Regions from separate parts of the Homo sapiens genome. Here region 2 is linked to region 1. The links are contacts of gene promoters, found by promoter capture Hi-C in human tissues and cell types (Jung and others, 2019). All regions are on one chromosome and are shown on one strand. Each heading gives the region's core, a stretch centred on a gene start or on the middle of the fragment in contact. The rest is flanking DNA. Distances are from core to core; before and after follow the strand shown. Region 1 holds the start of TDRD3 (tudor domain containing 3). Region 2 has its middle 3.6 kb from the start of PCDH20.

Region 1 (5,455 bases), core at 359-2,858:
TAACCAGTGAGAAATTCTGATGATTGGTACAACATATTTTCATAGTTAACAGGTTACACTAACTGAAAAATGTAAATAATTGGTAACAGAAAATTCTAACCGCCAATAAAAATTATTGGCAATTTATTTTTGAGTCATCTATTTACCTTTAAAATGGCATATCTATTCCTGGCTCCTGTATATGATGGCCGATGACTATAAATTGAAATATACCTGTAGCATACGTATGACTTAAACACTGCATACTACTGCACATTGCAGCGAACAGGATGGAGCTACTTGTGATCTAAAATTATCTAAACAATATACTTGGGAGCAAATCTCAATAGCATTCCATCTAACGAAAGCATCGCGATTTTATAACTATGACTTTTGGGAAGACCAAACGGAATACCCCAGCTGAAATGAGAAAAATCTGTATTAAGGAATTTTAGCTCCACCCAGGGCAATTATCCCCTTCCTTCCGTAACTGCCAATTTCCTCCCCAATCCCAAGAGCGCCTCTGCCCAGTTCCGCAGTCTCTGCTCCAAGTCTGTTTTTGATGATGCCCTTAGAAGCAGGGGCAGCGGCAAGCGGCGGAGATAGGGATTAAGTTCCTAACAGTCTTCTTCCCCTGACCTGGCAGATGGGGACGCTGCCCCTTAGAAGCCTTTTTCCCCGCAATACGGGACGCCGCAGAGGTGAAAGACCAAGAAGGTGGAGCAAACTTTTAGGGAGCGCCTCTTGGGCCCGCGTACCCTTCCGCCTGTTCCTCTCTGATTGGCCAGCGTGAGTCACGGACGCCCAATCGCGCGGTAGCGTCCGCCGTGCCGCTGGGCGACGGCGGCGCGCATGCCCACTCAGGGACCCACCCTGCGCCCCAGCCCTCTACAGCGCGGGCGAAGGGCATCGGCGGGGAAGCGGCTGTGGTTGCCAGATCTGGCAGTACAGAGCCAAGGTGGCAGGGCCGCGCTAGGACACGGATGGTCCCAGGGGGAGGGCAACAGGAAAAACAAGCACTGACACAACTGCCCCATTTCCCCATGTCCCCTAAAAGCAGGTTTTCTTGGGCTGACCAGGGCATTTTCACTGTGGTGTCCGACTGGGGCAACTCGATCTGCCCGCGGGGACTCAAAAAAGCTTGAGCTGCATTTTTTCTTTGCGTCCGGGCGGACCAAAAGGCGAGGTGAAGGGAACGAGTGTTTATAAGAAAGTAAACTTTTGTGCAGAATGGGCTGGGGACACCTCTGAGTTTTGCTGCCCGCAACGTGACCTTTTTAGCGCGGTCCTGGACGCGTTCCCTCGCAGCCAACCCGTCAGTCTCCTCAGGCCTTATCCTGCCCTCTCTGAGGTGGCCGCCTGTGGGCGCTGCAAACGCCACACTTTTGCTCTACGAAGAACCTCCTCGCGACTTTCCAAGGTGTGCAACTCAGAAAAGCGCCCCCCAAAACAAGTAAAAGCCTTCGGGGAAGAGGCAAAGTCCCTGAACCGTCCTGACTCCAGCCACCAGCCGGTGTTTGGTGGATCAGGTCCCGGAGCTCCGCAGCCTGGGAGCCCCACACCAGGCCGGCCCCTACGGCCGCTCAGAAAACGCGGCGAGCGGAACCCGCACGCGGAAGCGCCGGCCGCACTGAGCATGCCCAGTTGCAGAGCCGACCAGAGGAGTTTTTTCTTTTCTTTTCTTTTTTTTTTTTTAAGGGGGGGGGTCTCAAGTAGGAGGCCTCCCCATCACCCCCACCCCAGCCCCCCACCACCCCCGGCCTAAGCAGCTACCATGGCCCAGGTGGCCGGCGCGGCGTTGTCCCAGGCGGGTTGGTAAGTGGCGAGTCCCGCCGGCTGCCGGGCCGCGGGTGCGGGCCGGGGCCCCAGGGAGGTTGGGTTGGGGGCGGCGGGGTGCGTGTCGGGGTAGGCGGAGGCTGTCGTCCGCCCCCGGCCTCTCCCCGGGCCCTTCGGGCCGGCTCCGCCCCCGGCGCCACGCGGAGCCCTGCGAGTTCCCCTAGGTCCCCTGGAGGCGGCGGCGGCGGCGGCCTGGGCCCCGGGCGGCGGGCCTGGGCCCCGGGCGGCGGGCGGCGGGCCTGGGGAGAGGCCGGGGGCCGCGAGCCGGGCGGGTGGCGGCCCAGACCCCGGCCGACCGGAGCGCCGGGGAGGACCTGCAGCGCCGTCCGCGCGGCTTCTCCGGGGAGGGGGTGTTTCTGCAGCGGGATCGGGAGGCGAGGGCTGGGAACGAAGTGCGGCGGAGAGGGACGAACGCGGCCGGAGCCCGCGGGCCCATAGGAAGTTGAGGGCAGAGCAGAGCACAGCCCGCGCTGCGGCCGGAGCCGCCTCTTCTTACCCCTTATTTCAAAGTACAGTGTGGACCAGTGTGAATCTGCCTTCCGCGGCACACACACAACTTCTGGAGCTAAGAATGACCGCAATGTCAACTCGTGGGGGTGCTCGGTAGAACTTTTCTTGAAAGGATGGTGTTCTGATTTTAAGAGGCCTTTCGTGTCAAGATTTTCAGGATTTGAAAACAATACAAAATTATGCGAAATTAGGCAGTTTCTGGAATTGCGGCCATTACGGTTGTAATCATCCCGTTTAATTCAGTAACGCTTTTCCCAGGCTTGCACAGGCACATTCTGGGATGAAGGGTAGGAACGGGGATGAAAAAGATTTGCAACGGCTCTCTGCAATTACTGCTTTAGGAGAAAGAGTGAGGCATTAAAAGACCAAACAAAACCAGGGGGAATAGTGATAAACCGTACGTACAGAGGAACAGATGAGTGCACTGTGGAATGGGAGGGAGAGTTACTTTCCTAAAGTGGACTTGGAAAGATGGTAAGGAAAAGGCTTTCTAGCACAGAGCTGCTGGAGATGACACAGGGAAGCGCTTATTGTTTTGCAGAACCTACACAAGATCTATATGGTTCGTGAAAGATGTGGATTTGATTTTGTGAATAAAGTTTTTGATCAGTAGAGGGATATAATCACAACTGTGCTTTGAAGAAGCCCCTCCTGATTTTAAAGGCACTTGTGTTATTATACACCCCATTTTACAGGTGAGGAGACTGAGGCAAAGAGCTGTTAAGTAACTTTCCCAAAATGACATAGCTAGAAAGTGGTGGAGTTGAATGTTGAGCACAGAGGGCCTGGCTCTGGGCCTGGTTCCTTTAACGCTTATGCGTTATTGTTGTTACAGTTTTTTCGCAGAACAGCATGGGCGTAAAAGATTGTAGAGTTAAAAACACTGTCTTCAGTTTTGTTTCTGTTCAATAGGAATCTCTTCTTTCAGTTTTTTTACCCACAAGGGTGTCCTGAATAATCTTGGATCCCTCTTTCATTTGCCTTTCTCCCCATTTCTCATTAGGTTGAGCGTTGATCCTTCACACTAGTAATATTTTCATTTACAAACTCAGTATTTTACTGCTTTCCAACATGACCCCCCCTCCTTTGGAAAGATTAGTCTCATTTTTTAGGTCCCGAACACGTGTTGACTTTGTTTTCTCTGGCCTCTTATGCTTTTCCAGGGCAGGGAAGTGAGTCTTATTTTTCTCCTTATCTGGATTGTCAAGAAATGCACCAGATTGTAGGTTCTCTGTAAAGTCTAATACAGTTGACCTTGGAATGCCCCTGCCAGTCAGAATTCTCTGGGCAGGGCCTCTGCAGAAGCTTAGGTAGAGTCCCACCCTGCTTCGTTATATTGTTATAAATCTTCAGCAATGTTATATTGTAGCATTTGCTACTTTATATTGCAACTTAACTGTTTATGTTTCTCCCACCTGTCTGTGCTGCTTCTGTATGGCAGTGACTCATAAAGGCAGTAGTAATCTGCGGGGCTAAAAACACTATCTTTCTAGGAATTGTGAGTTTCATGTAATTCCTGCTAGGTCTCGAACAGACTAGGCATGAGGATCTCCTAGGCTTTCAGGTGGCTTCTACTAGGTCTTTAATTGGGGACTTACTATGTTAAAATTTAGAATCACAAAGGTTTAAAGGCAGAAAAGAGCACTGGAGGGAAAATTTCTGACTGAAGGGCTTTCACCAACTCATTTTAGTTCTTATATCCTGAGTTTGCTCTTACACTTGGGGTTCTCTGTTAACTGTCACTGACAAACCATTTTTCTTAGTATTCAAATCTATGTACTTAGTTACTTGTAGAAGCTAAAAAGAAGTAGATGCTAAAACATGGACACACTATTGTTAAATCTGTTCTATAGGCTTCACCTAAAATAGCAGATTAGGGAAATATTTAGTGCTGAAAAGTTTACAATTCTGAAAATGTGATCTTCAGGGGGGTACAGAAGATCTATGTAGACCAATCTGTTCAAGTTTACATTATTTTTAAGCGCAGTTTTTTTCCTTCTTAAGGTTTTAATCTTCATTAGAACCCCTATAAAAATCAGTATTTTAAAATATAACTTCAAAAGTAGCTACCTGGCGGACTTAAAATAATTTTTGTTCTTCAATGGCCAGTAGCACACAAACTATTAGATTTTGCTGATTTGAACTTGAATGTTCCAGGGCTTTCTACAGAGTAGTGATAATGTTTAAATAATGCACTAAATGGTACCTTGTAAAGCTTAATTATATGCATGGAATAACTTCACGGGGAGAAGAAATTTGACTCTGAATTTATCTAGATAACAATTTTACTCACTCTGCATTTTTGTTTTCTCTCTTCAGAGGTTCATTCTCCTTTAGGATGATATCCCTGATCACTGTGAGTGGAAATATAAAATTCTACTCACAGGAGAAAGATTCAAAATGTTGATCTCTGGACATTTTGAATTTTTCTCTTCCATCTCCTCCTTTGTTTGTTTGTTTTTAACAGAAACCTGTCACGGGGTACCTAATCAGTTGTGTTTTTGTTTTTGAAAATGTATCTTCTGGCTGGGCGCAGTGGTGGCTCATGCCTGTAATCCCAGCACTTTGGGAGGCTAAGGCGGGTGGTCAGGAGTTGGAGACCAGCCTGGCAAAAATGGTGAAACCCCGTCTCTACTAAAAATACAAAAAAATTAGCCAGGCGTGGTGGCAGGCCCCTGTAATCCCAGCTACCTGGTGAGGCTGAGGCAGGAGAATCGCTTGAACCCAGGAGGCGGAGGTTGCAGTGAGTCGAGATTGCACCATTGCACTCCATCCTGGGCGACAGAGCGAGACTGTGTCTCAAAAAAAAAAAAAAAAGTGTCTTCCATGGAATTAATGTTGCATAGCTTAACTCTCTCTCTGTGCATATGAAGAAACTGAAGCACAGAGAGTTTCAATAATTTGCTCAGAGTTATAAATGGCAGAACCAAGAATAGAGCCCAGATGTCTAGAATAAAGATTCAGTACTCATTTCCACCAAAAATTAACAGAAGTGACCGCATCTAATTTAAATTATTGATCAAAAGTGACACATTTAAAAATTGAAAATTGGGTTGAAGCATTTTGTGGTGTGTAAATTTACTTTCCTAGTCCAGGAAAGATAAAGGGCTTATTCTGAGGGGTGATCCTA
Region 2 (5,992 bases), core at 1,462-3,961, 1.0 Mb after region 1:
ACACTGAATAGCTATGTAACCTGGAGTCACCTAACTCCTGGCCTTCTGTTTCCTCATTTATAAAATCAAGGCTAGTGGGATACTCCAGTGCATTAAGCCTCTGAAACACTTTTTGATCTGCAGGTTGCCATGTAAGTAATGGAAAAGCCCATGATTCGGCCTTTCCTTGAGAAGACATTTCTCTTCATCGCTAGGCTTCCAGATATCCTCTGCAGGGTCCTGAACATAAAACCTCACATGCTGAATGACCAGTGACTGAGCCTAGAGTGAAAAAAGGTCTTTGATACCTGATTTCCATATGCTTTCTGTAGGAACTACTTCAATTTTCCCCTTCCACCAAATGCTAACTAGAATATAAATTGCTTGGCTGAGCTAACTGTTTTGCTTCCTATCCTTCCTATTTTCTCCTCATTTCTAATAATCCTAAACACAGAGTCCTAAATATGGACAACACACTACATCAAAACACCTGGAGGGTAACAGCTTGTTATTGTGCAAATGGGGCTGTACATGGAGTTCACAAGTCTCTCTATAATACAAATTTGGCATACAATTTGAACCTGGCTGGTAAAATCAGTTCCTTCAAACCCTTTACAGTGAAAATGGAGCACTGATGAAGTGGTAAACCTCAGCCCCCAATCACCATCACCCCACCCCTCACCCCCCTACCCCTCTCCCACTCCACCTCCTCCCCACCCCACACACACACTCAAAGGAACATGCACATCTGAGTTGAAGGTTGGTAAACAAGCTGCAGCCAGGGAAGCATGATCTCCCTCCTTGTGCTTTTTAGCTGCTGGTTCTGCCCTACAGCTGAACTTTTGCCATATTAGTAAATATTTACTTTGAGGTCTGTAGTTGAAACATACTTGACTCCCCAAATCAGTACCAAGCTGCTTCTGAAACGTGTTTAACTTACATCTTTATACAATACCCACAGCTTCCCGAAGTTGGAGGCCCACGGCCAGAGTTAGGCAATCTGTCAGCAGTCAGAGAACCTGCAGTCTGCAACAATTCTCCCCCAGAGACAGAGCAGCAGAGTGGGCTGTTTATCCGCTCACAGCTCATGCCCTCTGCAACAAGTTAAGATCATCCACCTTTTTGGTGGAAACGTAGGGAGCTATTTTCTTCATTTTTCCTTTGTTATAAGGACATTGTACAGGAGCTGTTGTTTATGATGATAGTCCAGGTGAAGTGACATTTTCTCTTTGTAATTATATCTCAAGTTTTTACTTTTCCCTGGCCCCTTACTCTCCCTTTCCCTACTTTGCAGTGGTTGCTTGTAGTACAGATGCACTTCCTTTTTAAAGTGTTTCCCCCAGCCTACACCAGCAGAATCTTCGTCTTCTGACCCTATCACCCAGCTGGTCTCTGTGGAAAGGGTTATTACCACACCTCCCTTTATTAAGTTGAAAAGAAATTAAATATACCCATTTGGCCATAATTATTCTCTAGAGTGTTTCTAAAAACCATAAACATGAATTATAGCAAAAGTTCTTCATGTAAGTTGAAACACTAGTATTGAACACATCTTGAAAATAATGTTTGGAACGACACTAACAACCACATTTGCTTTAAGTGACTACGGTGATTGCAAAGTCCCTGCATGGAAGTTTGTCATCAAGATTGGGAGATCTTGGCATAATATTGAACAATACCTTCCACGTCGCATTTCAAACCATTCACTGAACTACTTGTTATTATCTTTCCTCTCTGAAAATCCAAAGGTTTTACACAATGTTTATACCCTAATTGGGCTTAAATAAAATAAAAAGGACTAAATAGACATCTTTCTTCCCATGTATCCCTTCTCTGGGCCTTGTGAAAGCATTCCCAAACTCTTATTCCTTATGATGCCAGCCTGCGACCTACCTTCTGGTGTCACATATTTCTAACGATGACTCAGAAAGCTTCTATGCTATTAGTCCCTTGAAAATAATACTTATGAACTTCTTAGACGTCTCAATTGCTCTGGGCCTGCTTCCCACATGTTTTGTAAAAATCGATCTAGAAGAATAGTTAGATTATATGCCTCCCAAGCCTATTTTTCCTATAGACAAGGAAAACAGCAGGATACAATAGACGGTGCACTGAGCTGAGCCAGAGGAGTGGATTACATTCTCTGGGTTGTTGCTAAGTTCTGTGTGACTTTAGACAAGTCATCAAACTTCTCTGTTTCAATTTCATAAAAAAAGACCCCTACACACTTCATGCACGTATATGCATGAAATTGCTTACCTCATATCTGGCATTAACAGACACTGCATGCTGATACACGGGTTAACTTGATTATTACTTATTGCATTCTATCACTAAAACATACTATTTTTCATTTACTGCAAGCCTTCTTTTTGTAATTTTATTATCTCCACTACAAAGATGTGAGCAAGATTATAAGTATATATCAAGATACCATCTTTGCCTGGGCGCGGTGGCTCACGCCTGAAATCCTAGCACTTTGGGAGGCTGAGGTGGGCGGATGGTCTGAGCTCAGGAGTTCAAGACCAGCCTGGGCAACATGGTGAAACCCCATCTCTACTAAAAATACAAAAAACAAACAAACAAACTAGCCGGGGCGTGGCAGCGTGCGCCTGTAGTCCCAGCTACTCTGGAGGCTGAGGCACGAGAATGGTGTGAACCCGGGAGGCAGAGCTTGCAGTGAGCCGAGATCGCACCACTGCACTCCAGCCTGGGCTACTGAGCGAGCGAGACTCCATCTCAAAAAAAAAAAAGATGAGGAAAAAAGATACCATCTGTAAACTTTTTACGTTTTAAATCTTTAAAAAAAATTTTTGAAGCACTATGCTTTACAGGTAGTTTTATTTGTATTTCTCAATTAAATCTATTTCCACTATTTAGATTAGTTTAATAATATTGTGGTATACACAAAGTTTCATGTAATCACTATATACACAGATATTTAAAACTATCTTGAACCATAACCGTGTACATGTTCTGGTTAATTCATAATTGCAAATAAATATAAGTTTAGAATATTACCTTATTTTAAGGCCATTTCTCTTTGTCTTAATAGAATTTTTAAAATTAGAAGTCCCTTTTGATGAATTAAAATATATGTACATGTGTACACAAAATATATTATTAATATATAGGTACATATGTAAAAGTGTAAAATATACCACATATAAATATAACATATAATAAATATATATACAATGAAATATTATATCTGTATTCTTTTTTGATTCAATCATCAAGGTTAAAAGGATGATTACATTTGAAAAACCAATAAAATACCTGAGAAATGATAGATTGGTTACCTAGTGTCAATTATGTTTCAAACATGCTACTAGGTGGTTGACATATGTAATTTAGTTAATCCTCACAGCAGTTTTATAATATAGTTATTATTATACCAGCTTTATAGCCATACATAACATGCTAGTCCAGAGCCTGATCTGTGACCTTCAAAATATGTGATCTTTCTACTCTGGTATGCCTTTCTCATCAGAATGGGAAAATAAAGGGCCCACACACATTTAAATGTATTTCTATTCAACAAACATTTATCACTCATTTAAAATAAAAAAAATTGGAGGCATAGATGTGTTATATGATGCCTTTTCGAAGGAAAGGATTCTTTAGTCCATTACTACTTCGTAAATAGATACATACACATGGATATAACTTGTCTAAGCTGTGTGGCTAACTTAAATCTCCCAATGTATACATGTAAAATATATAATGTGTGTATAGCTGTGTGTATACTTGAAAGTACTGAAAAGCTTTGGATAATTTTAGGGATCACCTAGTTAGCCCTCATTTTACATGCTAGGTGACAGTAAGAAAGATGACTTATAGCTGACTCAAATTATGAAAATACTCCCATTTCTTATAATAGTACTAGATTTTAACCTCACAATTGCTCTGATATTAGAGGATAACCTGTAAAAACAGTATATTTTTTAAACCATCTACGGTTAAGATCAAAAGCCTTGATTTTAAGAGTTACTCTAAACTTTATTTTATTTTATTCATTGTTCAAATTTACAAATATTTACAAATATTTTTAAGTAACTACTGAAGTACTAATTATTTTTTAAGTATATCACACAAACTGAAAAAATCCTACTTCATTTCCCTACACGATTCAGAAATTAATAGTGAGACTAACAGGGAATCAGCAGTGAGGCCTTTTGCTAAAAAAGCTGGACAGTTAATTCAGTAAATAAACATACATTTACACACTTGCAAGAAGAAGGTCCAAATGAGCTAATTTACTATAAAACTTGTATTCTAAAACATTTACTGCTGTACTGTGCAACTTATACATGGGACCTTTGTAAGCATTATTCCGTCCTGATGACTCTTTTTTATGTTTTAGAAAACTTTGTGTAAATAGATTGTACATTTCTCCTCTTTCCCTATATATTCCAATAGGAAAGAATAAGATAGGATGGAAGGGTCCTTTCATTTCAGAACTCAATTAGCATCACTTTAACAGGGATAAAAATAACTGTGTGAAGTCATTAGAAAACCCCAGGCCTAATTTTAGCTAACATTTTCAACTTTTCCTCCTTATCCTGAAAATAAATTTTAAAAGTCATTTTCAACTCATTTTAATTTCACATTCTTCCTTCTCACCTCTGGTAGAGGTGATAATGAGCAGCGAAATCATCAAAAGAAAGGTGGTGGGATTGAGGAGGGAAAGAAATGAAGGGCATAGAAAATTCCACGAAGTGGATCAGGAGTTGCCGAATAAAGAACAGTTAACTAAATGTGGTTTATTGATGATGCATATGCCTTACTTCCTGGAGTCCATCCCTGGGAGATTTGAAAGAAGGAAAAAATACAGGCTGTGCAAAGAATAAAGCAATCGTAAACCCTCTGAATTAGCATAGAAATTAGGTCAGGGCCAAAACAAATCTATTGAAGGAGAGAAAGAATTTTAAATTATGTTTTAGGAGACCGATCGTCTATTTCTTCAGATACCTATTTTTGATTCTCACAAATTTAAGTGTTACATATGGGAAAGTTTAATGAAAATTTATGCTCAAGTAATGTTTTTATACCGATCAACAGATCTTTTGACTGGCTTGATAAAATCTCTTTTTATCTGACTCTGTGAGCCTAAAGTGCGATTGTTAAAAACTGCATGACTGTTCTAATCTCAGCATGTGTGGCATATATAAAGGCATTGAGTGAGTATCATAGGGTCAGTAAAAGACTTTGTCAATGATGTACGTAGTCAATATTTTCATGGCGAAAATATGAAACGCTATGATCACTAGCTACTTCTTTCTTGATATCTCTTTAGAAGGAGGTAGAGTTTGCTGATCTCAATTTCATTTACTGCTAACAGCCAGCAATATTCAGCACCTAACTTTCACCAAGTGCGTGGTGGACATTACATTGAATATTCACAAAGTCTCTGCAAGTTAATGATGACCCCATTTTACAGATGAGGAATAGAAGGCTTTTAGAGGTTAAGTAGGTTCTTGTGGTCACACAGCTTTGGAAGTGGCTAAGTTAGGAGGAACAAGGAAAATTTGAGTTAGTTTATTATAATGTTGGTGAGCCTTTTAAAAACAAATATGGGCGATATTCTAATATTAACTGAAGCAAGCACATATGTTGAATAAGGAATATGTACACATTATAAATAATGCATATAATCTGATAGTAAGATAACCATTTCAAAAATACCAAACATCTGGAAAAAATTAAACAATTATAAACTTCCATAAAAATGTACATAAGCTATACTTCTGAAACAATGAGTGCTCTGTTTTTTCTAAATTATTTGAATTATCAAGAAAAGAATGTGGGTTTTGTAACAGAATTTTTATAAACAATTTAGAATTATATGGCAATAAAACATTTACTTGGCGAAAAGAATGTGCTTCTTGATAATGAAATTGTAAATATCCTAAAGGCCCACCATTTCTTAATTGTAGATAATATTAAAATTTGGTCCAGTTGATATCAACTTTATTTAGAATATAATAACAGTTTTTTTGTGGATTCCTTC

What was found. The method cuts DNA at HindIII sites, captures the fragments that hold promoters and counts their contacts. A contact is called where the count stands out against the background at its distance.
Region 2: a contact is called between a fragment that was not itself captured here and the fragment with the promoter of TDRD3 in region 1, in 1 of the 25 tissues and cell types used here (dorsolateral prefrontal cortex).

Annotation. Positions count from the first base shown.
Region 1 is chr13:60,395,612-60,401,066 of GRCh38, forward strand. TDRD3 (tudor domain containing 3) reads left to right here and starts at 1,609. Exons shown (of 14, transcript NM_001146070.2): 1 at 1,609-1,794. The coding sequence starts at 1,754. RefSeq lists enhancers at 531-600, 931-1,260, 969-1,481, 1,331-1,530, 2,411-2,460 and a silencer at 1,671-2,240. The HindIII fragment of the contact is 4,558 bases long and covers 1-2,374 here.
Region 2 is chr13:61,416,420-61,422,411 of GRCh38, forward strand. No RefSeq gene overlaps it. Among named protein-coding and RNA genes, the nearest start is that of PCDH20, 3.6 kb to the left of the region's middle. The HindIII fragment of the contact is 4,402 bases long and covers 511-4,912 here.